Regions from separate parts of the Homo sapiens genome. Here regions 1, 2, 3 and 5 are each linked to region 4. Evidence: promoter capture Hi-C in 16 types of primary human blood cells and fetal thymus (Javierre and others, 2016). All regions are on one chromosome and are shown on one strand. The core of a region is centred on a gene start or on the middle of the fragment in contact, and the rest is flanking DNA. Distances in the headings are between cores, read along the strand shown.

Region 1 (2,894 bases), core at 224-2,723, 450 kb before region 4:
GGAATTCTATCAAGGGGGCAGAGTGGGCAGGGATCAGGGCATCCTTAAATTGATGTGTACTAGGTAGATCTGGCCTGGCCTTATCACATTCAATATCTGAATAACTCATGTGATGATACAGAAGGCATGTTTATGGAAGTGTAGCTTGCACTGCTGAGCTGAGGGTGGAGTGAAGGAGAGCTCACAGTTCAGATAACTGACTCTCAGCACAGTGCCTGCCACACAACAAGTAGCATCTTCTTCGCGAAGCCTCTACTGACCTGTGTTCGGTGAAACTGAGTACCCCTGAGTGCTTTGTATTTCTCATGATCCTGTTTGTTGTATACGTGTGTGTACACAGGGCCTCTCCTACTAGATATTAGGCTCCTGAAGGGCAGTGACTGCCTTGTTCATTTTTGTATCAGCATCTAGCACAGCGCCTGGCATGTTGTAGGTGCTTAACAAACATTTGTGGAGGGAAAGAAGGAAGGAGAGAAGGAAGAAGGGGAGAGAGGGGGAAGGAAGGAATTAAGTTGACTATTGCTCATCTCTTCCCATATGAAGGGGTTGTGATCATTTATATTGTTGCGTAACAAGCCACCCCAACATTTAGTGGCTTAAAGCAATAATCATTTTATTTTCTCATGATTCTGTGGGTCAGGGATTCAGGCAGGGCTCAGCTGGGTGGCTCTTCTTCTCCACGTTATTGGCTGGGGCCATTTACTTGGCTGTATTTGGCTGGTGGCTTGGCTGGCCTAGAAGGCTTCATTTGCATGGCTGAAGCTTCGGTGCTCCAGCAGGTAGCCTCTCCCCCTCCATGTGGCTTGAACTTCCTCTCAGATTGATGGTCATGGGATGGTTACATTTCTTACCTCACAGCATGTTTTCAAGAGGGAACATTTCAACTGACAAAGACTTATAAGAAGCTGTGAATCTCTTAAGGCCCAGTCTCAGAAGTTACATTATATCATTTCCACTAAGTTCTTTTGGTCAAAAACTGGTCACAGGGCCAGCCCAGATTCACAGGGGAGGGGCTCACTGGGAGGAGTAACTCAGGTTATGTTGCGGGGTGGGGGTGCTCCTAGTGGCTGTGTGATGTGGTGAAACAATCCTAGGCTTTAGAGGCAGGAAACCTGGTTTAAATCTCGCCTCCCTCACTTACCAGGTGTCACGTCACCTAGCTTCTTGAGATGAGGATAACAGCATCACCTCTTTCAGAGTGCTATTGTGAGCCTCGAGTGAGATCCTGCATTTGAAAGTGTTCTACAAAAGCCAGGCCAGTTATTATGAGTGGCAGAACCAGGACTAGACACTGAGCCAGGCTTCTAGCCCACGTCCTTCTCCTCCCTTCACACTCCCCTTAGGAAGAAGCAATAAATACATATTCATTGAGGGCCAGTGGACACAGGCCACCCTCTCTGCGCAGGGATTCTTTCTCATCCTAAATAAGATGCAGGTTATGACATTGCCATGTGACTCAATAGGTCTTGGGCTTCTGTTGCTGAGGACAGGGAATAGGGTTTCCAGGAGAAAGTGGAGTTTTTTGTTTTTGCTAGGGGAGGTGTCTGATTTAAATCCAGGCAGAAAATAAGAGGAGTAAGAGGCTGGGCGTGGTGGCTAACGCCTGTAATCCCAGCACTTTGGGAGGCCAAGACGGGCGGATCACAAGGTCAGGAGATCGAGACCATACTGGCTAACACGATGAAACCCTGTCTTTACTAAAAATACAAAAAATTAGCTGGGCGTGGTGGTGGGCGCCTGTAGTCCCAGCTACTTGGGAGGCTGAGGCAGGAGAATGGTGTGAACCCGGGAGGCAGAGCTTCCAGTGAGCCGAGATTGTGCCACTGCACTCCAGCCTGGGCGACAGAGCGAGACTCCGTCTCAAAAAAAAAAAAAAAAAAAAAAGCAGTAAGAAACATTTCTTTTCAAAAGGCTTTAAACTAACAATGTCCTTACCCTGCAACATCCCCCTAGCCACCCCTCACCCATGAGTAGCACAGAATACATCCTGACCCCACAGCCAGAGCACATTTGCCCAAGACTGTGCCTACAGACAGCCTGGCATGGAGAGGCCAGCAAGGCTGACCAAGTGCCAGCCATTTCAGGGTTAACAAACAAACCTGCCAAAGAGAATTGGGTCATGTGTGTTCTTTCCACAGAGAATGGCTGAACGAGCATTTCTCTCCTAACTGGTTTCCAAGCTTCCCCTGCAGTCTGTTCTCCACACAGCAGCCAGTTATCCCTTTAAACCTTAAGTCAGAACTCTCCAGTGGCCCTTCAGCACATCAGGGTAGAAGCCCACGTCCTCAGCTATGAAGTCCTGCTGGGCCTGGCCTCTCTCTCACTCTCAAATGCTTGCCTTTCCTCCCTCCCTCCCCACCGCTCGTGGAATACGCCAGGCTTTGGGCTTTGCACAGGCTGTCCCCTGCATCTAGAACACTCTTCCTCCAGATATTGGTGTGGCTCACCCTTTCACTTCCTTCAAGTCTTTGCTCAAATTTCACCTTCTCAATGGGGCCCACCCTGACCATCCTATTTAAAACTGTAGCCTAGGGTGGGTGTGGTGGCTCATGGCTATAATCCCAGCACTTTGGGAGGCCTAGGCGGGAAGATCACTTGAGGTCAGTGATTCGAGACCAGCCTGGCCAGCGTGGTGAAACCCTGTCTGTACTAAAAATATAAAAATTAGCTGGTTGTGGTGATGCATGCCTGTAATCCCAGCTACTCAGGAGGCTGAGGCACAAGAATTGCCAGAACCCAGGAGGGGAGGTTGCAGTGAGCCAAGATCATGCTATTACACTCCAGCCTGGGCCTCGCGACAGAATGAGACTCTGCCTCAAAAATAAATAAATAAAATAAAATAAAATAAAATAAAATTGCAGCCTTCAACTTATTACCTTTATTGTCTTTCTCCC
Region 2 (2,732 bases), core at 117-2,616, 420 kb before region 4:
GAAGAAAAGTCTGTCTGTACAACTTATAGAATAAGAAACTATGAAGTCATGCTTCACTGTCAGAATGAAACAACTTCTGGCTCTTTTGTTAGGAAGTTGCTTATGTCCAACTTACCTGACAAGGAGCCCCAGAGAGAGACCACAGTTCAAACTTGCTTGATTTCACCTTCAGCTGTCTGCTAGTGTCTAACATTTCATAGAGAGAGACGAGAATAGCCACTCTCAATAATGGGTCCCAGCTGACCAAGGGTGCAGAATATTTATGCTGGCGGTTCCCATCTGCTGAGCGGTTACAAGCGCCAGGCCCTGTGCTTTGCATCTTCCACGCATGACCTTATTCAACCTCACAATAAACTTAGGAAGGAGGAGCTTTCTCATGCTGTTTTTGCAGATGAGGAAATACACTTGGGAGGGTAAGTGTGGTGGACAGGAAGAGTTGAGTGATGTGGGCAATTGAACATGGAGGGATAGGGGGCCAGAGTCCCACTCTTCTCCAAGAAGGGTGCCGGGTCATCAGGGAGGGCCAATGCATCCACTGGCAGATCAGTTAATCAGCATTACTAGTCCCAGAGCCTAGCAGAGGGCAGGGCTCCTGGGCACAGGAGACAGAGGAGCCTTCATCCTTCAAAATGCCTCTCAATTGTTTCCTACCTGTGCTCCCACTTTGGGACAGACCCTTGCTCTCTCTCTCCTGGAGAACAGCTGTTTCCTGCCTGGTCTCCCAGCTTCCATTCTCCAATTCCTCCTTCTGGCACTTAAAATCCTGAGCAATTTGGCTCCAACCTACTTTTCCAACTTTATGTGTTGCCACTTCTCAGTGTGAGCTCTTCCCAGCCTCAACTGTATATTTCCAGCTCTTGCTTGCAATTCTTCTCCCCTGGTCCTAAATCCTACCCACCCATGGACTCTCCTCTTCCACGTGGCCTTCCCTGGCCTCTCAGGGCCACAGTGTTTCTCCTGAATACGAAGAACTTTCTTAGTCTAGCATGGGCATCCAGCACATTTATGCAATTCAGGATTGCTTGTGTTAACCACTCTGTTTTGTGTCTGTAGTGAGGCTGTAAAACTCCAGGGACCACATGCAGCACAGTGCAAGGCCTACTGGGAGGCTCTGTCCCGGGAACAGACATTGGAAAAAAAAAAAGGTTATATTTACATGTTGACAGCACATGGATTTCTTCAGCTGAAAACTGTCATTAGCAAGGAAAATTAAAGTAGGAAGCTTGTTCTTTCTTTGAGTTTCATAATAAATCACAAAGTCATTTGCGGAGCTTTTGTGCTGCAGGTTCTGGGCACCAAAACTGCAAGTTACAGCTCTGAAAGCCAGTGTCCACCAGGGCCGAGAATCAGACCAGAGTTTGAATCCTGGCTCCACCTCCTTACTGGGTGACTGTAGGCAAGTTCTTCAACCTCTCCAAATTTTCTGGTTGTAATTCAAGAAGAAGTATCTCTACTATACAGGGTTGTTAAGAAAGAATAAATTAGATAACAATGTATAAAATAAGCTTAGAACCACAACATCAGAACCAATGACTATATGATGAATCAAACTGACTTACTTTCACAAAATGCGTTGGGAACTTAGAATGGTATCGGTAGGAAAGTAGTGAGGACCTGAGGTGGGGTGAACAGGAAAACAGCTGCTCAGTTGCCTTTGCTTAGGATGAGTTTGTGCTCCGGGCGCAGGGATTAGGTGATGAGGAGGTAGTTGCCACTGGACAGGGAAATGTGTTGCTTCTTCCCAGCGACCTCAGGGGACACTCTCCTCACTGACTGTGAGATCCCCTTGGTCAGGGACTGCCTCCCCTTCCCCAGAACCTAGCACAGAGCAGGAGTTCAGCACATACTGGTTTTCATTGAACATTCCCAAGTACTTACTTTCCAAGAATAAAAGAAGCAGTTCTTTCTAGACTTACTTGCTAAGCAAAAAATGGATAATTAAGATGTTGCAAGAAAGTCGCTGGCAAAAGTCCAAGGAGCTGCTTTTCTTAAACCCTGCACGGAGGTGCAGGGGGTGACATATTTTGACAGCTATGACATAGCTCAGGGCAGATGGAAGAACAACAAGTACAAAAGAGAACTTGATTTTGGCTTTGGCCAAAGAGAACTTTTGACTTTGTTTGGCAACTGTTTACTGGATACCATAGTAGCATGCCTTGCCCTAGTGTGGTGTGAGAGCTGCCCCTCAGCCAGTGATGGAGAATGAAAATACTTGAGAGTAAAAGCCTAATTATTTAAAAATACATCAAAACAAAAGCAAAGAGGGAAACAATCTGGCTTCAACGTTTATGAGAGTCCAGAGTCTCTGAAGAAGCTGGTCCTGTTAAGGAATGGAAGACAGGGCCCCAAGGGAGCTGAGGGCGTGGCTGCTTCCCCAGGGCCTGCTGTGGGGGCCAAACTGACCCTGAGAGGCAGTGTGTCAGCTTCACAGCTGACTTGAGAACCAGCGGGGCCCTGGGTCTGGTTTACCACAATAAAGGAACAAAATGTTCCCTTTCTAGCAGAGCCGCTGCTGGTGGGGTTCGGGACAGAGGCGGGTCAGGGCCCTCCGAGATGTAAGGACACTGCTTTGCTTTGCCAGTGAACTCTGGTTTGGTTTGGGGGTATTTCATCTTTAAGGACTGTGAAGGTCCCATTTGTTCCCTGCTTTAATAAAAAATAACACAAGAAATAGGTGTTTCTCTCCCTTATTTTGAGACCACTAATCAATACCATCTGATCATAGTTTTAAA
Region 3 (2,702 bases), core at 198-2,697, 470 kb before region 4:
GTATATTTTCTTTTGAGGAATGTCTATAATTCTAGATTCTTTCTCCACTTTTTAGTGGTTTTTTTTTTTTTTTAGTGTTGAGTTCCTGGTATATTCTAGATGTTATCCCTTGCGAAATGAGTAGCTTGCACATATTTTCTCCCATTCTGTAGGTTGTCTCTTCACTCTCTTGATTGTTTCCTTTGCTGGGGAGAAGGTTTTTAGTTTAATATAGTCTCATTTATCTATTTTCTTTAGCTGTGCTTTTGAAGCCTTAGACATAAAATCTTTGCTTAGACCAATGGGCTGAAGCACATTTTCCTTATGTTTTCTTCTAGCGTTTTTATAGTTTTGGGTCTTACTTTTCAGTCTTTAATCCATTTTGGGTTGATTTTTGTATATGGTGAGAATAAGGGTCTAGTTTCATTCTTCTGCATATAGTTCCCAGCACCGTTTTTTGAAGAAGGTGTCCTTCTTCAATATTTCCCAGCACCATTTATTGAAGAAGGTGTCCTTTTCCCAATGTATGTTCTTGGTGCCTTTGTCAAAAATTAGTTGGCTTTAAATATGTGGATTTCTGGATTCTCTATTCTGTTCCATTGTTCTATGTGTCTGTTTTTATACCAATACTATGCTGTTTTGGTTACTATACCTCTATAGCTTTGTCGTGTATTTTGAAGTCAGGTAGTATGATGCCTCCTGCTATTTTTTTTTCTATATATATTGCTTTAGCTATTTGAGGTCTTTTGTGGTTCCATATGTATTTTAGGATTGTTTTTCTATTCCCATGAAGAATGTCTGGTATGTTGATAGAGATTACATTGAACCTGTAAATTGCTTTAGTCATTTTGATAATATTAATTTTTCCAATCCATGAGCATGGGATGTATTTTCATTTGTTTGTGTCTTCTTCAGTTTCTTTTATCAGTGTTCTCTAGTTTTCATTGTGAAGGTCTTTTGCATCCTTGGTTAAGTTTATTCCTTTTTTTTTTTTAGCTATTGTAAATGGGGTTCATTTCTTGCTTTTTCAGTTCATTTATTATTGCTGTATAGAAACACTACTGATTTTTATATGTTTATTTTGTATCCTGCAACTTTACTGAATTTGTTTATTAGTCGTAACAGTTTTTGGTGGAGTCTAGGCTTTTCTATATATAAGGTTATGTCATCTGCAATAAGGGACAATTTGATTTTCTCTTTCCAAATTTGGATGTCCTTTCTTTTTCTTCCTAGTTGCTCTGGCTAAGACTCCCAATACTATGTTAAATAGGGATGGTGAAAATGGACATCCTTGTCTTGTTCCAGTTTTTAGAGGAAGGGGTTTCAACCTTTCCCTATTTAGTATGATGTTAGTTGTGGGTTTGTCATATATAACCTTTATTATGTTGAAGTGTGTTCCTTCTGTGCCTAATCTGTTGAGAATTTTATCATGAAGGAATGTTAAATTTTATTACATGCTATTTCTGTGTCTATTGAGATGATTATATGGTTTTTATCCTTCATTCTGTTAATGTGATACATCACATTTATTGCTTTGTGTATGTTGAAACATCCTTGCATCCTTGGGATAAATCCCACTTCATCATGTGTATTATCTTTTTGATGTGCTGTTGAACTTGATTTGGCAGTAATTTGTTAAAAAGTTTGAATTTATGTTCATAAAGAATGGTGGCCTGAAGTTTTCTTTTGTTGTTGTAGTCTTGTCTGGTTTTGGTATCAGGGCAATGCTGGTCTCATAGCATGAGTTAGGAAGAATTCCCTCCTCTTCACTTTTTGGAATAACTTGAGAAGAATTGGTGTTAAATCTTTTTCAAATGATTTGTAGGCTGAGTGCAGTGGCTCAGATCTGTAGTCCCAGCATTTTGGGAGGTTGAGGTGGGAGGGTTGCTTGAGGCCAGGAGCTGGAGACCAGCCTGGGCAACATAACAAGACCCTGTGTCTACAAAAAAATAATTAGCTGGGCATTATGGTATGCACCTATAGTCCTAGTGACTCAGGAGGCTGATGTGGGAGAATCACTTGAGCCTGAGTTTGAGGCTGCAGTGAGCTATGATCACACGACTGTACTCCAGACTGAGTGACAGAGTGAGATCATGTTTCTAAAAAAATTTAATAAAAATTGGTAGAATTTTGCAATAAAGCTATCTGGTCCTGGGTTTTTTTGCTGGGAAACTTTTTATTACTGATTCAATCTCATTACTTGTTATTGGTCTTTTCAGGTCTATTTCTTCCTGGTTCAATTTTGGTAGGTTATATGTGTCTAGGAATTTATCCATGTCCTCTAGGTTTTCTAATTTGTTAGCATATAATTTTTCATAATAGTCTCTAAAGATCTTTTGTACTTTTTTCTTTTTCTTTTTGAGACAGAGTTTTGCTCTGTCACCTAGACTAGAGTGCAGTGGTAGGATCTTGACTCACTGCAACTTCTCCCTCCTGGGTTCAAGTGATTCTCATGCCTCAGCCTCCCAAGTAGCTGGGATTACAGGCGCCTGCCACCACACTCAGCCAATTTGTTGTATTTTTAGTAGAGACAGGGATTCACCATGTTGGCTGGGCTGGTCACAAACTCCTGACCTCAAGTGAGCCACCTGCCTCGGCCTCCCAAAGTGCTGGGATTACAGGCATGAGCCACAGCACCTGGCCGATCGTTTGTATTTCTGTGATATCAGTTGTAATGTCTCCTTTATCATTTCTAATTTTATTTATTTGGGACTTCTTTTTTT
Region 4 (2,840 bases), core at 188-2,687:
CTCCTCCCTCTTTCAGCTCATCTTGTTCCACTCCCCTGCTGGCCCACGGGGCCTCAGCTCCTTTTGTCCCTTGAACAGCCAGGCTCATTCCCACCTTGGGCCTCAGTGCATGCTGCCTCCTCTGCCTAGAAGGCTCTTACTCTGCCTTTGCAAAGCCAGAGTCTTGTCCTTCAGCTCTCAGCTCAAAGGAAGGCCTTTCCCTACCACCCACTCCACGGCAGCCACTCAGACATGTCTCCCTGTCTTGATTCCCAGCAGAGCAGGTAACACTGCTGAATGAGTCCTTGTTCGTTTATGTATCTGATTGGTTACAGTGTGAAGTTCTATGAGAGCAAGAACTCTCAGTGCATCCCCCAGCACCTGGGACAAATCTTGGCCACTAGGATCAGCAAATGACCCCTGACTCCTGGTCACTTCCCCATGGATCTCAGGCCTGGCTGCCTGCATGGCCTCAAAAGGGCTTCTTACTTTGGTCGGCTCTGGCTTCAATTCCAGGCAAACTGCCTTGTAGTTCTTGCTCTGCAAAAAGAGGAGACTGAGATTCAGGCTGGCAGACATCAGGATTGGGGAGGAGAACATCTGGCCCTTGCACGGGAACCCTGCCCCCTGCCCCCCACAACCATGCAACCCTGCCTGTCCAACTGGCTTGAGCTCAGGCTCACAGACCCCGCAGCACCCGGATCCGATTCCTAACAAATCACATCTTGTCGTGCTGTCCTCTTCCTATGGGCGTGTGTCTGCCTATTTGGCAGGCAGCCCTCTCCCTGCTGGAGGCGCCAGCGTGGAGAAAGCACTTTAAGATAACTAGAAGCAAGCCCCGGAAGTGTTGTTTCCAGAGCAAGGGCTTTGGCCATAGGCAGATTTGCACTATAGTCTCAGCTGACCTCTCTACTATCTCTGTTATTTTGGGTGAGTTGCTTAGCCTCTCTGAGCCCCCATTTCCTCATCTATAAAATCGACGTGATGATTATATTTATCTAATAAGGTTATTCTGAGCCTTAGCCCTGCTGGTTAGATGTGGGCCTGGCAGGCCTGGCATGGGCCGTGGAACCATGAGTGGTCTTGGAGTAGGGAGTGCTCCCTTGGCAGTGCTCCTCATCCCCAGAGGGAGGCAGCAGAGGCCTCTTTCCTTCCCACCCCCAAGGCTAGGGATTAATCCCACACCCCTTCCAGACTGAGAGGCTGCTTTATGCTCAGTACAGAGAAAGAAAAACCAGAGATTCATGCGAGCATTCTCTGTATCCCTTGCCCCGACACCATCTCCATTCAGTAGGAGCTCAGAGAGGACCCACACTGTCCAGCAATGTCTCTCTTTTACCAGATGTGTTTTCTTCAATTCTGCCCTCTTGGCCGACATGATGGAGGAGGCCAGGGTGTTCTTCAACTCCCCACAACAGCCCCTGGGACCAGGCCACTGTCCTAGGCAACTTACAGGTCAAGGTGAGGGCAGGGTGACCACCCCTTTGTGTACGGAACAGCTGAGGTCACAATGCCAGGACCCACATGGTGGTCCAGAGCGTCACCACAGCTTCAGGCCTGGGGGGCTTCGGCCACTGAGATGAGGGGTTCAGGCCAGGTTTCAGAGTCCCACCAGGCCTCCCTCTTGCAACAGAAGGAAAGTCCACACTGAGGAGGATCATGGCCTGCTACGGTCGAAGTGCAAGGCACGCGTCAGAAGCAGTGGCTCCTTCTGCAGCAGGACTCACCTACTGACTCAGAAGGACGTCCTCCAGGGACAGCCAGCTCCTCCTCTGAGCGCACAGCCCATGTCCTCTGCTGTGCGCTCCTCGCGCGAACCGACCCCACCTCGGACCGGAAGCCACCTTGGGCTGGAGGATGCCATGAAGTCTCTCTGGTTCAACGTGCATGCACCGTCTCACTTAACCTGGGTTACTCTGTATGAGGTGGGGTAGCCAGTCTCAGCAGGATGGTTTCTGATGCCTCTGACCTCACACTGCCCCTGTCCCACAACCACCCCCAGACCCCTGCCCACCTAAAAATTCTCTTTTCCTAGTTCTTCTATCATCCGGGAAGAGGGTTGGGACAAGAAGCTAAAGATAAGAAGCTTTTCGGGCAAATGAAGAATACTAAAGAAAAGGCCATTCTGCGGGTAGCCATAGTTTGTGCTAAAGTAGACAGTCAGAGGAACATGGCACCCCATGGGATAAAAAATCACTGGGGATCTGGGTTGGTGAAATTGATTTCTCTTTTCCTCTTATCACTGGTCATTCACTTCCTTCTTCCCTCTCATTTCAACTGCTAGTTGCACAGAAAAGGCCAACATGGACATCTGAGGACAGACAGCACAGGAGTACAGGAACTAATGCAAATTGCATGTGAATGACATCCCCATGCAGGCCACTACTGACCACACTTACCCTCCCATTTCACACACCTGCTTGGGACTATCCTTCCTGGAGGCCACTGGAACTTCTGGAGCCACCTGCAGCACTTCTGATGCATTTCCTAGGTGGTGATTTCCCAGCCCTGACACTGGTGACAGCTGTGGGTCTTACTCCACCATAGCCAGAGGAGAATGTGTCTGCCACTGCATCAGCGGAAGGAGAGGGAGTTGGGGGTGGTCACCAGCTTCCCAGGCTTCACTTTCCCCACTTATAAATGAGGGGCTGGAACTTTTCAGTTTCCTTGGACCTTTTAATTCAGCCCTCTCAGATCTGATGGCCTCGTGGTAGGAATGCCCTTCCTCTAAGGGAATTACAGTGAAAATGACTGACTCCATCTCAACATCCACCAGCCCCGTGAAAATGTGCCCCACCTCCTTCTGCTAATTTTGGCTTGGGGGCCTCCTGGACCTGCAGTAGAGCTTCCCTTGCTTGGCT
Region 5 (2,901 bases), core at 59-2,558, 360 kb before region 4:
TTCACTGATTTATATTACCTGCTCCATTCTTCTTGTGAGCATTTGCCTTTCTAGGCCCTTGTGTTTGCAACCTCTGGTATACCTATATATGGCATAGGAATTCAAATAAATGATTCTGTGAAAGAGGTAGAAAATAAGCTCAGACTTTAAATAAAGGATGTGGATCAACAGTGTGGCCTAACAGAAAGAGAAACACAGCACAAGCTACAGCAATAAGGAAGGGAAAGCACAGGTATGTAGAGAAAGCCCAAAAGTTTTATCTAGAAGCAGCTTACAGCAACTAGGTAATCAATGACAGAGAGTGTGGCATAATGCTTTGGCATTAGATTCAAATCCCAGTTCCACTACTTAGTACTTAAGTGCTAAGCTAAGTTACTTAAGCCTAAGTTTGTGTTTCTTCAGCTACTGAGTTATTTAACATTTCTTCAATTAATGAAATACAATAGTATAGTTGTACTCAACACTTATTCATTTCTTCCACCACCTTATTTCATAGCAGAAGAACCTTGCCAGAGGCAGGTAAAGTGATTTGTCTAAGTTCACATAGCTGGCATAGAGTCAGAGCTTCCTTGTTTTTTACTCAGTTCAGGGTTATGTTTGTTTTTAAACCACACCACATCAATTAATAACAAGAATGACCTTTTACAGAGAGGAGAGGTCATTTTGTAGAATAGGAGGATATGACATTATGTAACACCAGAATGTAATATTTAAAAGTCTTAAGCATCTGAAAGAATTTCACTTATGTTTGGTAATTATATATAAAGGCTGTTTTATCTTAAGACACATTACACAGTAAGACATAACATACTACAACAACATCAAGTTTCTTGTAAGTTTAAAACCTTCATTAGCAACTTAGTAAAATGTTTACAAATTCTTCTAGGCTATAAAGAGTATTTATTACATTATTTAGGTGGCTGCCTCCTGACAAAGTCTAGCTCTTGTTCTTTGTTAACAAAAACCAAACTCATCAGCCTGCAACTACTTCTAAGTGAAGTGGAGCACTATTTTTTTTTTCGGTATTCAACTTAAAAGATCTCTGGCCAGCAGACTAAAATGTTTGTTTTATAATTGCCCGCTGAACTATGATAGTTTGTTTCCAGATGGTGCCCTTCCTTCAACCTGCACACAATCTCTCCTTGTTCAAAACTATTCAACCTCCTGCTGATCCCACCCCCCTATTTAAGGCTACAAAGAGGAAATCCTAAGGAGATTCCCGCCCCCAGTCTCCAGCAATTTTTGGTGATGTAATATGTGGGCTGAACTTGAGTCTACTGAGAAAGAGGGAATCACTATTCAGGGGTACTGTATATACAATCTGGGTCAGCTGCAGCTGGTTACTGCATTTCTCCATGTGGCAGACAGAGCAAAGCCACAACGCTTTCTCTGCTGGATTAAAGACGGCCCACAGACCAGAACTTCCACTATACTACTTAAAATTACATAGGTGGCTTGTCAAATTCAATTGATTAGTATTGTAAAAGGAAAAAGAAGTTCCTTCTTACAGCTTGGATTCAACGGTCCAAAACAAAAATGCAGCTGCCATTAAAGTCACAGATGAACAAACTTCTACACTGATTTTTAAAATCAAGAATAAGGGCAGCAAGTTTCTGGATTCACTGAATCAACAGACACAAAAAGGTATTTAATATTTCTTTTATTTAAAAATATTATGTATAGCAAATGCATAACTATTTTATATTTGTAGTAGAAATTTCAGAATCTTTTACTAAACAAAGACCTTTGGAATATACTACAGTTTATCTCATCTGAAAAAGGTTTTATCTTGCAACTTGACATAAAAACATTAAGTACTGTGCAATGGTTAATGCATTATTTGAGGTTCAATTTAATGATGTTTAGTGTATATGATTACAGACTGATACATGCATGCCATGCTGGGTTTCTGAAAACAAGTGCTTTAGTGACAGTAGAAAGAAATTTTAACAAGTAACAGATTAAATGTATAAGGCTTACAGCACAATGATTAAAAACAAAGGAATACAAACTAAATAGTCGTGAACACAATTAGTTTCTCTTCCTGCAGCCACAGTGTGTGTGCTGAAGATATACATAAACTGTTGGATTTCTCAGTGTAGTCATAAAACAAAGCTAAGATACAAAAATAGTTGAAAGTCTTTGCAACAAAATCTCAATTACAGTATAACCAAATATTAAGCAGAAATTCTTGTACAGATTTAAGATTAATCTATGGCATTTCTTGTTCCAACTCAAAATTTTAAATAGCTTTCCAGGCTTACATGTAATAGTAATTTAATTTGGATGACAGAAATTAAACTTGCTACAAATGGAATCACTTGGAAAAGCTAAGTTATTGATATACACACAAAAGCATTATGTAAGTGGTATTAACAATAGAAAATAAGAACCCAGAAGATGTAATTAAATTCATGACTAAAAGGCCAAAAATATGTAATATTTTAGGTAGAAATAATTTTGTTAAGCACACATAAGAGGTTTCCTTCAATATTCTATCTGGGAGCTTTTTTTACATGCATTATAAAAACTATTAAAGATAAAATTACTCGTTACCAATAGTATGCCTTAAACCAAAGACACTTAAGTTTGTTAGATTTGGGGCTCCTTTAGCCTTGTAAAAATTAAAGATATTAATGGTTAAGAATCTTGAACAAGCAAATAATGGTAAAGCTAAAATTTTTTCCAACTTTGCTTTTGTGTCCTTTCCTTAAAGATTTAAAACTGTAAATGCTGGCAGGATTTCTGTTAAACACATATTTTACAAGAAATTCTAACAAAATTTCCAAGCAACAGTGGATCTGAAATACTGTCATCTCTCTTTTTTGTTGTTGCATGCTATGGGAAGTGCAGGACTTCATTAAGCCTCAGTTCTTACTGACGCTGTCTTAAGGCAGGCAT

Evidence for each region. Contacts are between HindIII fragments. The CHiCAGO score rates a contact against its expected background, and 5 or more counts as called.
Region 1: a contact is called between a fragment that was not itself captured here and the fragment with the promoter of TEX35 in region 4, in 2 of 17 cell types (total B cells and naive B cells). The highest score is 9.2, in total B cells.
Region 2: a contact is called between a fragment that was not itself captured here and the fragment with the promoter of TEX35 in region 4, in 1 of 17 cell types (naive B cells). The highest score is 7.5, in naive B cells.
Region 3: a contact is called between a fragment that was not itself captured here and the fragment with the promoter of TEX35 in region 4, in 2 of 17 cell types (total B cells and naive B cells). The highest score is 8.7, in total B cells.
Region 5: the fragment with the promoter of ANGPTL1 here is called in contact with the fragment with the promoter of TEX35 in region 4 in 2 of 17 cell types (naive B cells and total B cells); the score reaches 8.6 in naive B cells.

The regions. Positions count from the first base shown.
Region 1 is chr1:178,962,802-178,965,695 of GRCh38, reverse strand. No RefSeq gene overlaps it. Among named protein-coding and RNA genes, the nearest start is that of FAM20B, 62 kb to the left of the region's middle. The HindIII fragment of the contact is 1,418 bases long and covers 765-2,182 here.
Region 2 is chr1:178,931,748-178,934,479 of GRCh38, reverse strand. No RefSeq gene overlaps it. Among named protein-coding and RNA genes, the nearest start is that of ANGPTL1, 62 kb to the right of the region's middle. The HindIII fragment of the contact is 283 bases long and covers 1,225-1,507 here.
Region 3 is chr1:178,980,272-178,982,973 of GRCh38, reverse strand. No RefSeq gene overlaps it. Among named protein-coding and RNA genes, the nearest start is that of FAM20B, 44 kb to the left of the region's middle. The HindIII fragment of the contact is 4,309 bases long and covers 1-2,702 here.
Region 4 is chr1:178,511,706-178,514,545 of GRCh38, reverse strand. It overlaps TEX35 (testis expressed 35), which reads right to left and starts at 1,437. Exons shown (of 9, transcript NM_032126.5): 1 at 1,319-1,437; 2 at 469-519. The coding sequence starts at 1,357. LOC101928866 (a long non-coding RNA gene) reads left to right here and starts at 1,496. Exons shown (of 6, transcript XR_001738307.2): 1 at 1,496-1,904; 2 at 2,264-2,470. The HindIII fragment of the contact is 3,272 bases long and covers 1-2,067 here.
Region 5 is chr1:178,869,484-178,872,384 of GRCh38, reverse strand. It overlaps ANGPTL1 (angiopoietin like 1), which reads left to right and starts at 1,308. Exons shown (of 6, transcript NM_004673.4): 1 at 1,308-1,644. The region is part of intron 8 of RALGPS2 (Ral GEF with PH domain and SH3 binding motif 2); the gene reads right to left. The HindIII fragment of the contact is 10,209 bases long and covers 1-2,901 here.